Regions from separate parts of the Homo sapiens genome. Here regions 2 and 3 are each linked to region 1. The links are contacts of gene promoters, found by promoter capture Hi-C in blood cells and fetal thymus (Javierre and others, 2016). All regions are on one chromosome and are shown on one strand. Each heading gives the region's core, a stretch centred on a gene start or on the middle of the fragment in contact. The rest is flanking DNA. Distances are from core to core; before and after follow the strand shown.

Region 1 (3,435 bases), core at 912-3,411:
AAAAAGAAAAAAGAAAAGAAAGAAGTGGGTGCAGAGGCTGGGCTACAGAAGAACACACTGATTCCCATGGCTGAATACTCCTTCGCACAAGAGCAGAGCCTCTGTGAGGGATAAGGACTCCTTGAAGATCACAGGGGTGGTAAGAGGGAAGACTGGGTTCCCATCATTTCCTGAACAGCTCATGTTATTGATGAAATGTTGAGGTCTCTCCTCACTGAAAGCCAGAGTTTCTGGCATTTCTTGGCTAGAGGACACAAAGGTGGTAATGATGTGTGAGAGGTGAGGGAATAGAGGGGACGTGGAACAGCCTGTCTTTTTGCCTCGGCCTTCTGCTGCCCTTTAGCTATGGGGGGCTCCAGGGAATAAAGCAGGAGAAACATCTGTCCCTGGGCTGAGGGAAGTGGGCAGCCGGTGGCACCTCAGCACAGAGGGATGGGAGTGTTTTCCTTCCACCTTGTCTTGCTTCTGGCTCCCTGGTTAGCTCCAGCTCTGGATCCTGCCTCTCAAGCTGGTGGGTCTTCTGGAATCCCTGACCAGCTCTTTCCCAAAAGCACCCACAGTAGGACACCCCAGTGTGTTTCTGGGAGACATGTATAGGCTGTCCTGGGAGATAACTTTTCCTGATGTTTAACTTGGTCCTTTTTGATACCATCTGACCATCTTCCCTTTTGTGCTGGTATCTTGGGAAGGAGAGAGCCTTATGACTGGAACCCTCAGATGCCCCTCTTCCTGAAGGCCAAGGGGAGAACAGATGTTCCACTGAGTAGAGGAAAGCTCAGACACAGGTGGTGGAAGAAAATGTAACAGAGGGGCTAGGTAAACTCCTCCACAGGCTTTGGGTGGGCCACTTAGTTGGATGTCAAGTTCACAGACACCTGCTTTCATGACTGACATGGACCTCTGGCTACCGGTGCAGCCATGGCAATCACTGTGCTCAGGGATCCAGAACAATCTAGAAGATGCTAAATAAATGTCCTTTCCCTAGGGCAGCAATCACTTTCATTCTACCTTGACCTAATAACCCATGCTCTGATAGTGAGTGTGGACTCTGGGATAAGAGGCAATATGTAGATTTATCTCTGTTTTAATTTCAGCACTTTCTTCCAGGAAGCCTTTTCCTTTGAGGTGCTGCATGATTTCTGTGAGAGTGGGGTTTAAATCCAGTCCCTGAAGAGTGGGAGGATGAGCACTGAGTGAGTGAGCAGACATCCGAGTCCCTTCAGGGTGAGGGGCGCTGCCTCTTCACCAAGTGTCGCAGGGCCCTCCTCACGTCCTTGTTCCGAAGGGTGTAGATGATGGGGTTGAGCATGGGTGTGATGACTGTGTAGAAGAGACTGAGGACGCGGTCTGTGGTAACAGAGGAGCCTGCCTGCGGCCGGATGTAGGTGATGCTGGCTGTTCCAAAGAAGAGAGAGACCACGAGCAGATGGGAGGAGCAGGTGGAGAAGACCTTGCGGCGGCTCTGGGTGGAGGCCATTGCTAGGATGGCACCCAGGATGCGGATGTAAGAGGTGACAATCAGAGAGAAGGGGATCATAATGAAGACTATGGTGGCTGTCATCACGGAGATCTCGCTCCTGTGCTTCCCAGCACTTGCCAGCCTCAGTACTGGCAGGATGTCACAGAGAAAGTGCGGGATGATCGGGTGGCTGCGAAAAGGTAGAGAGAAGATGAGGGAGGCATGGGTGGTGGCCGTGATGATGCCTGTGAGCCAGGAGGTACCCACCATGGCCATGCAGGCCCGTGGGCTCAAGAGGGTGGAATAGCGTAGGGGCTGGCAGATGGCAACATATCGGTCATAGGCCATGGCCGTGAGCAGGCAGCACTCCGAGATGCCCAGGACAATGAAGACGTACATCTGGGCTGCACAGCCCTGGAAAGAGATGGCCTGGGGATGCGGGGAGCCCAGATTGGCCAGGGTCCTGGGCACGATGTCAGTGGTGTAGAAGAGCTCCACCACTGAGAGTTGGCGCAGGAAGAAGTACATGGGGGAGTGCAGGGCAGGGCTGACCTGTGTGAGGAGGATGATCAGGGAGTTACCCAGCAAGGTGACCAGGTAGACCAGAAGCACCACCCAGAACAGGGGGCCCTGCAGGGCCTTGAGGTCAGAGAATCCCAGAAGGAGGAATTCAGGCAGTGTAGTATGGTTTTCCCCAGCCATCACTCCAGGCCAGAAGCTGAGGCACAGCCAAGAAGAGAAGTTATTTAGAAATAACAAGCAACATTTCTGTAATTTGGTAAAGCACTTGCCACACAGTTCCTCTCAAAATCAAGTGAGAGAATTAATACCTTTCTCTGAATGAGCCATGGGTCTCAGAGAGATTAAATAATGTGTCTGAGGTAATATCTAGAAAGTGGCAGGCCTGGAACTTGAATCCAGGTCTCTTGACTCCAAATTCGACGCCTTTCTCACTGTTTCCTGGGCTCTCGTCCTGTGTCTGGGGCCTGACTCTCATATGTAAAGACTCTAGCTCTGATCTTTGGATCTCTCTCCAGAGTGAGGGGTGAAGCAGCTGCTATGACCTAGGCCCCTTTGTACTCTCTAGATGGATGCTGAGGCACAAAAGAAACTGGGTAGCACCAGGGACTGTCCCGAACTGGTGTCTAATGTTCACCATAGTGAGCTGTGGGTTAAGAGTGTCACACAGTGATATGACTATTTGTGATAATACTGCCCAATGGTATCATTGGGATTCTGACACCTTCCCTGATTTCTCTGTTCTCCTCTTATCTGGGGCCCTGTGATCAGCTACACTAGCTGTTCTGTCCCAGCACACCCTGTTCTGTCAGGCCTCCATGCATTGCCATAGTGTCTCCTTTCAGAGGATATTTCTATTCTTCATATTAAAATCCCATCACACTTCAAGCCTTCACTCAAGTTTCGCTATCTCGGTGGCAGCTTTCTGTGATCCTCAGGCTCAGAAATAATTATCCATGGCATTTCAAGATTAAAAGTGACATTTAGGAACATATATTTCCATATGACAGTACTTGGATCTTATCTTCAACATTTTAGAAGGGTGCTGTGCAGAGTCTGTTTGAACATCTGCAGTGATGGGGAACTCACCACCTATTGAGGTAGCCCTTTCTAGCTATGGCCTCTTCTGCCTGTAGGAAAAGACTTTACTGTATTGGTCTTGGCTAAATGCTTAGTATTTCATACAATATTTAACTCCTCTTGCACCAGAGAGCCCTTGAGTATTTGAGGAAGGCACTTTTATCTCTGCTTTCATGAGATGTTGCTTGTCCTTTTGTCCTAGCACTTATTACTCCACTGTGAGATCCTGCAGGACGTGGTGGGGAGGTGGGGAGGCAGTTACCTATTTTAGCAGCTGCTAATGTTTCCCAAGTGCTTGGTTCCTGCCAGGCACCATGCTAAGGGCTAAACATTCATTAAATCATTGGATCTTCCTAATTACACTACGACATAGAAAC
Region 2 (3,428 bases), core at 266-2,765, 440 kb after region 1:
TTTCCCCATTCTGTGGGTTGTATCTTCACTTTTTTGATTGTATCCTTTGCTGTGCATAAGCTACTTAATGTGATTGACCACATTTTTCCATTTTTGTTTTGGTTGCCCATTCCAATGTCCTGGGGAGTTTCCCCAATGTTTTCTTGTAGTAGTTTCATAGCTCGAGGTCTTAGATTAAAGCTTTTCATCCATTTTGATTTGATTTTGTATGCGATGTGAGATAGGGGTCTATTTCATTCTTCTACATGTGGATATCTAGTTTTCCCAGCATCATTTATTGAAGAGGCTGTCCTTTTCCCAATGTATGTTCTTGGTATCTTTGTTTAAAGTGAGTTCACTGAGATGCATAGATTTATTTCTGGGTGCTCTATTCTGTTCCGTTGGTCTATTTGTCTGTTTTTATGCCAGAACCATGCTCTTTTGGTTACTATAGCTTTGTAGTATAAATTGAAGTCGGGTAATGTTCCTTCAGTTTTGTTCTTTTTGATTAGGATAGGTTTGCCCACACTGAGAATTTTGTGGTTCCATAAAAATTTTAGGATTTTTTAAATTTTTTTGAAGAATGTCATTGGAATTATAGGGATTGCATTCAATCTGTAGATTGCTTTGGGTAGTATGGAAATATTAACAATATTAAATCTTTCAATTCCCGAAAGTAGAATATCTTTCCATTTTTTTGTGTCCTCTTCAGTTTCTTGCATCAATGTTTCATCATTTCATTGTAGAGATCTTTCACCTATTTGGTTAATTCCTAGGTATTATATTTTAATTGTAGCTACTATAAGTGGGATTACTTTCTTGATTTCTTTTTCAGACTATTTGTTATTGGTATGTTAAAATGCTAACTGATTTTTATATGTTGATTTTTGTATCTTGTAACTTCACCAAACTTCTTTATTGTTTGTAATACTTTTTGAAGGAGTCTTTAAGTTTTTTCAAATGTAAGATCACATCATCTGTAAACAATGATAATTTGACTTCTTCCTTTTCAATTTGGATGCTGTTTATATCTTTTCTTGACTGATTGCTCTAGGACTTCTAGTACTGTGTCAAATAATGGTGGAGACAGTGGGCATCCTTGTCATGCTCCAGATCTTGGAGGAAAGACTTTCAGCTTTTCTCCATTCAGTATGATACTAATTATGGGTCTGTCGTATATGGCTTTTATTATACTGAAGGACGTTCCTTCTATACCCATTTTTTAGGGTTTTTGTCATGCAGAGATGTTAAATTGTATCAAATGCTTATTCAGCATCAATTGAAATGATCATATGCTTTTTGTTCTTCATTCTGTTGATATAATGTATAACATTGACTGATTTGTGTATGTTGAATCATCCTTGCATCCCTGGGATAAATCCCACTTATTCACGATGAATAGTATCTTTATAGTTGAATTTGGTTTGCTAGTATTTTACTGAGGATATTTGCATCAATTTTTGTTGGAGATATTGGCCTGTAGTTTTATTTTTTGCTGTGTCTTTGTCTGGTTTTGGCAATTGAATGGTTTTAATCCATTCAGCCGTCTGGCTTTGTCTGGATCACACTGGTTTTGTAGCAAAAGTTTGGAAGTATTCACTCCTCCTCTATTTTTCAGAATAGTTTGAATAGGGTTGGGAATATTGCTTCTTTAAATGTTTGGTAGAATTCAGCAATGAAGTCATCAGGCACCAGGCTTTTCTTTGCTGGGAGACTTTTTGTTACAGCTTCAATCCTGTTACTTGTTATTGATCTGTTTAGGTTCCGGATTTCTTCATGGCTCAATGTTGGTAGGTTGTATGTATCTAGTGCTTTATCTGTTTCTACTAGATTTTCCAACATATTGGCATATAGTTCCTCAGAGTAGCCACTGATGAGCCCTTGAATTTTTGTGCTATCAGTTGTAATAGCTACTTTTTTATCTCTGTTTTTATTTATTTGTGTCTTCTCTCTTTTTTTCTTAGTCTGGTTAAAGGTTTGTCAAATTTGTTTAACTTTTCAAAAAAAAGTTTTGTTTTGTTGATATTTAGTATTATTTTGTTTCAATTTTATTTATTTATGATCTGATCTTTATTATTCCTTTTCTTTGCCTTATTTTTAGTTTGGTTTGCTATTGCTTTTCTAGTTCTTTGTATTTGTTTCTGTTTCTGGATGGTTACTTGTACTTTTGTCTGGAATATAATCCCCTCTTTCTTTATTTTCCTTGATTCCCTCTTTTGGTTTCTGCAAATTAGATAAGATTACCTCTCTTCATCTTGTTAGACTGGTCTTGTGTATGAGAAGGTTTTGCCAATTCAACTGGCCAAAGATTTTAAGATGCCTCCAAAATCTGTGTGTTTGTCCAGATTGCTATCTTGGTTTTTGGTGGCCCTCTGGAGCTTAGGGCATGTCACATTTTGTCAGTACTCTGTTATCAGTATAAGAGCTAAGCTCTTAGGATGAAGCTGAAAAGGTTGAGGTTTTTGATATGTGTTCTAGTTCTTTCTATTTTCATGGTGAAGATGATGGTGGGCATTTATCTTGTAGTCTCTCTGCACTAAACTAGGAAGGGGATCTGCAGCAAATGCCTGTTCTCACATGCAGGCTACATTTTCTTATCCTAGACAGAGAGCTTCTGGAAATGGTCCTACTATATGTCTACATGTTTGTTTTCTGTGGTCTTGGGTCACTCAGATTCACAAAGCCCCCTTGATTTCAAAGCTAGGTCTCTAAGGAGACAGTTCCTTAGGTGGGAGCTATGGAAGTTGTGGCATTTGATACATAGCTAAATTTCTTCCAGAAAGAATGAATAGGCCTGGATTTATCTCTGGAGTAAGCTGAGAAGAGGTCTCAGAAAGTACCTCGCTCTTGCTTTGGCAACCAAAAGCTTGTTGTTTCTTTGTCCTGTTAGCTTCTCAATATAAGTTCATTAGAAACCAGGCCATCAGGTAGCCACTGGGAGTGTGTGTTATATGCTCCTTATTGAAAGAATGTGAGAGTGCACATTCCTGCCCCCTTTCTGCACTGTACCAAGGGAATGGTGCATCTGGAAGTGTTTGGATACCCATTTAGTATCACCTCTCAGTTCTGTGATCAAGGGAGACTTGCATATGCCTAATCTCTTCTGCTTCCAGAACTACTAGGTTTAGGGTGGAGTTCTTGGGAAGTAGAGTTAGAACTTTTTGTTCTCTATGTGTGACCTCTATTTCTTCTGGGAAAACACAGAGAGAGCATCTTTTTAAGCCCCTTTTCTGTATTGCTCCAGTGAGATAAACTCCCTGGAGGTGCTTGCATGCCTGTCTGAAATGCCACTTTTTTTCTGCAGTGTAGACAGACGTATGTATGCCAGTCCTTTCTGTTCCCAGAGCCAGGAGATTTAGATTCTCCTTATTGCTCCAGGGAGATAAAATCCCTGAAGTTGCTTGCATAAGCCTCAAGGGATTTTATCTGGAGCAATACAGATAATCTAA
Region 3 (3,177 bases), core at 640-3,139, 480 kb after region 1:
GTTGCAGTTTTGAGTACAACTAAGACAATGAAGCAAGAATAACAAACTATGGAATACCTAGACAGCACACCATAAAATAATTATGTTGAAATATGAAAAATCTATATTGATTTTTAGTTCCTTTTGTTTTGTTTTTTTTTTTTGAGATGGAGTCTCGCTCTGTTGCCAGGGTGGAGTGCAGTGCCACGATCTCGGCTCACTGCAACCTCCGCCTCCTGGGTTCAAGTGATTCTCCTGCCTCAGCCTCCCGAGTAGCTGGGACTGCAGGTGCGTGCCACCACGCCCAGCTAATTTTTTGTATTTTTAGTAGAGACGCGGTTTCACCATGTTGGCCAGGATGGTCTCGATCTCCTGACCTCATGATCCACCCCCCTCGGTCTCCCTAAGTGCTGGGATTACAGGTTTGAGCCACCACGCCTGGCCTTTAATTCATTTTTAAAAGGATCTGTTGATGGTCAAAACACGAAAATAAACTTTCATCTCCATACTTTCAGATGTTTTTCTTTGAAATTATTCTATAATAAATTACTGATAGTATTGCTCTTAGTTGCTTCTATAGTTTTATAGATGGCTAGAGGCCAATGAAAAGATATTTTTCTTATCAATGTCCTTTTCAAAGCATTTTGCACCTATTTCTTAGACTATAAATCAGATATTTAACATAGGGATGACAAGAGTTTAGAATACAACTATAACCTTGCTCTTTGGAGATGGCCCCAGGTTGGGCATACATGAAGAATACAGTTCCATAGAATAAACTCACCACAGTGATGTGAGAGCTGCAAGTGGAGAAAGTCTTCCTTCTGCCGTGGGTTGAGAGAATCTTCAGGACAGTGGAGAGGATATGCACATAGGAAGCCAGAATGACAGTTGTGGTGGTGGTGATGAGAGCAGAGAGAATAAACAGTACTACCTCATTCACAAGGATGTCAATACATGAGATCTTGATCATGACTGAGACATCACAGAAAAAGTGCTCTAATCTGTTTTCTCCACAGAAATGCAAACTGAAGGTAAAACCTGTTTGTATCATGGAGTTGATGCATCCACAGATAGAGGAGCCAACCACCAAACAAACACAAGCTTGCTGAGACATACATACAGTATAGAAGAAAGGTGAACAAATAGCTGAGAAGCGATCATATGCCATCATATCCAGAAAAAAACCTTCAGTCCCAACAAAGAGAGCAAAGAAAAACAACTGTGTTGCTCAACCATTGTAAGAAATTTTCTTTTCCTTGGAAAATAAAGTAGTCAGTTTTGGAAGCAATAACTGTGGAGTAGCGGAGATCCAAATAGGACAAATTTCTGAGAAAGAAATACACAGGTGTGTGAAGTCTGGAGTCTATTTCAATGACAACTAACATGCTGAGATTTCTCAACACAATGACCATGTAGATAAGCAAGAACAGGAAGAATAAGAGAATCTGTGCTTCTGGCGATGTTCTGAATCCCAGCAGAATAAACTCTGTCACCTCTGAGTAATTCCTGTTCAGTTCGCTCTTCATAGCCAAGACCTATCTGAGAAAAATGAGTGGATTATAATGAAGCCTGGTCAACTTTTGGTCCCTGAAGTTGCCAACGGGAAAAAACAGACAAAAAAACGCTGATACAAATTGGAGTTTTCTTGGCAGTGCATCTGATAGAATAGTTTTACATTTAGAAGCAACCACAGTAAAATCAAAATAAGGTTATTTAGGTTTTTCCCGTCTATTTAGTTTTAGTATTATGTGAGAAATTTGAATGGGCACGGGATATTTCCAGCAGTAAATTATCAGTCATTTTATGCTGTTTGTGAAGAGCTTTGGAGTCATATGGGCTGCATCCAAATTTTACATCTTTCAGTATGAAAGAATCTAAGATAACCATCTACACTTTTGATACCTCAGAAGTCCTCCTCTGCCAAATGGGAGGCACCTGTGAAGATTACACAAAATTGAGTGTGAAAAGCAATATTTATAATGACACAAACATCTTAAAAACATACACGTCAGTGAAATAAATAAAAAAACAAACACAAAGTTTCTTGTGCTCTAAGAATGGAAAACTGAGTGAAAACATAGGTCAATTCCTTTCCCCACTACAAGATAATTAATGCAGTTAATTTGGTTCTTAAAACATTCTGCTACATAGAAGACATTAGGAAACATGGGGTTATAGTTTAATGAGGTAGAATGAACCACTAGTCTTGAGAATGTCATTCAAAATAATAAATCAGACTCTTATCCCCTACATTAACCACATATTGTTCAGCTTCCAGGTCCTTCATTTACTATTAGTGTCTGAATGCTGGTGGCTCCCTTTTCTGGCACCCAAACTGCAGCATGCCTTTTCTTTTTACTGCCATAGACATATGAATTATTTTGTTTATATAGGAACACTATGGTTAGGTATAAGATTAACTTCCCCAACAAGAAATGTTTTCCCCTCTATATATTGTTAACAAAGCACAAGACAATAATGCAAATAAGTGTGGGGGGAGGGGGTGGAAATTCTGTATTGCATGGGTTCTGTTTTTTGTATTTTTCTAACTATTAATGCTTAATAGTAAATACTAAAGAGGCACAGAGATAAAACATTAATAATTTTTAAGATATCTAAAACATTAAATTAAAGTGGAAAAAATAAATTTTATATTATAAATCAATGGTTTTATTACTACATTTAATTTCTGAATTAGCAAAAGAGAAGCTTTTTCTGTCTAGAAACTTAATATATTTGAAGTTACATAGTTTTATTTAGAAATTTTCATAAAATTGAGGAGCCAAGATGGCGGAATAGGAACAGCTCCGGTCTACAGCTCCCAGCGTGAGCAACGCAGAAGAGGGGTGATTTCTGCATTTCCAACTGAGGTACTGGGTTCATCTCACAGGGGAGTGCCAGACAGTAGGTGCAGGACAGTGGGTGCAGCGCACCATGCGTGAGCCGAAGCAGGGCGATGTATCGCCTCACCTGGGAAGCGAAAGGGGTCAGGGAATTCCCTTTCCTAGTCAAAGAAAGGGGTGACAGATGGCACCTGGAGAATTGGGTCACTCCCACCCTAATACTGTGCTTTTCCAACAGGCTTAAAAAATGGCACACCAGGAGATTATATCCCGCACATGGCTTGGAGGGTCCTACGCCCACAGAGTCTCACTCATTGCTAGCACAGCAGTCCCAGATCAAACTGCAAGGTGG

The links. The method cuts DNA at HindIII sites, captures the fragments that hold promoters and counts their contacts. A CHiCAGO score of 5 or more calls a contact.
Region 2: a fragment that was not itself captured here is called in contact with the fragment with the promoter of OR10P1 in region 1 in 2 of 17 cell types (endothelial precursors and naive B cells); the score reaches 5.3 in endothelial precursors.
Region 3: a fragment that was not itself captured here is called in contact with the fragment with the promoter of OR10P1 in region 1 in 4 of 17 cell types (M1 macrophages, naive B cells, M2 macrophages and 1 more); the score reaches 7.1 in M1 macrophages.

What each region holds. Positions count from the first base shown.
Region 1 is chr12:55,635,618-55,639,052 of GRCh38, reverse strand. It overlaps OR10P1 (olfactory receptor family 10 subfamily P member 1), which reads right to left and starts at 2,161. Exons shown (of 1, transcript NM_206899.1): 1 at 1,220-2,161. The coding sequence starts at 2,161. The coding sequence ends at 1,220. RefSeq lists an enhancer at 1,823-2,324. The HindIII fragment of the contact is 13,599 bases long and covers 1-3,435 here.
Region 2 is chr12:55,199,948-55,203,375 of GRCh38, reverse strand. No RefSeq gene overlaps it. Among named protein-coding and RNA genes, the nearest start is that of OR10A7, 19 kb to the left of the region's middle. The HindIII fragment of the contact is 2,665 bases long and covers 183-2,847 here.
Region 3 is chr12:55,157,178-55,160,354 of GRCh38, reverse strand. It overlaps the pseudogene OR9R1P. Among named protein-coding and RNA genes, the nearest start is that of OR9K2, 32 kb to the right of the region's middle. The HindIII fragment of the contact is 1,608 bases long and covers 1,086-2,693 here.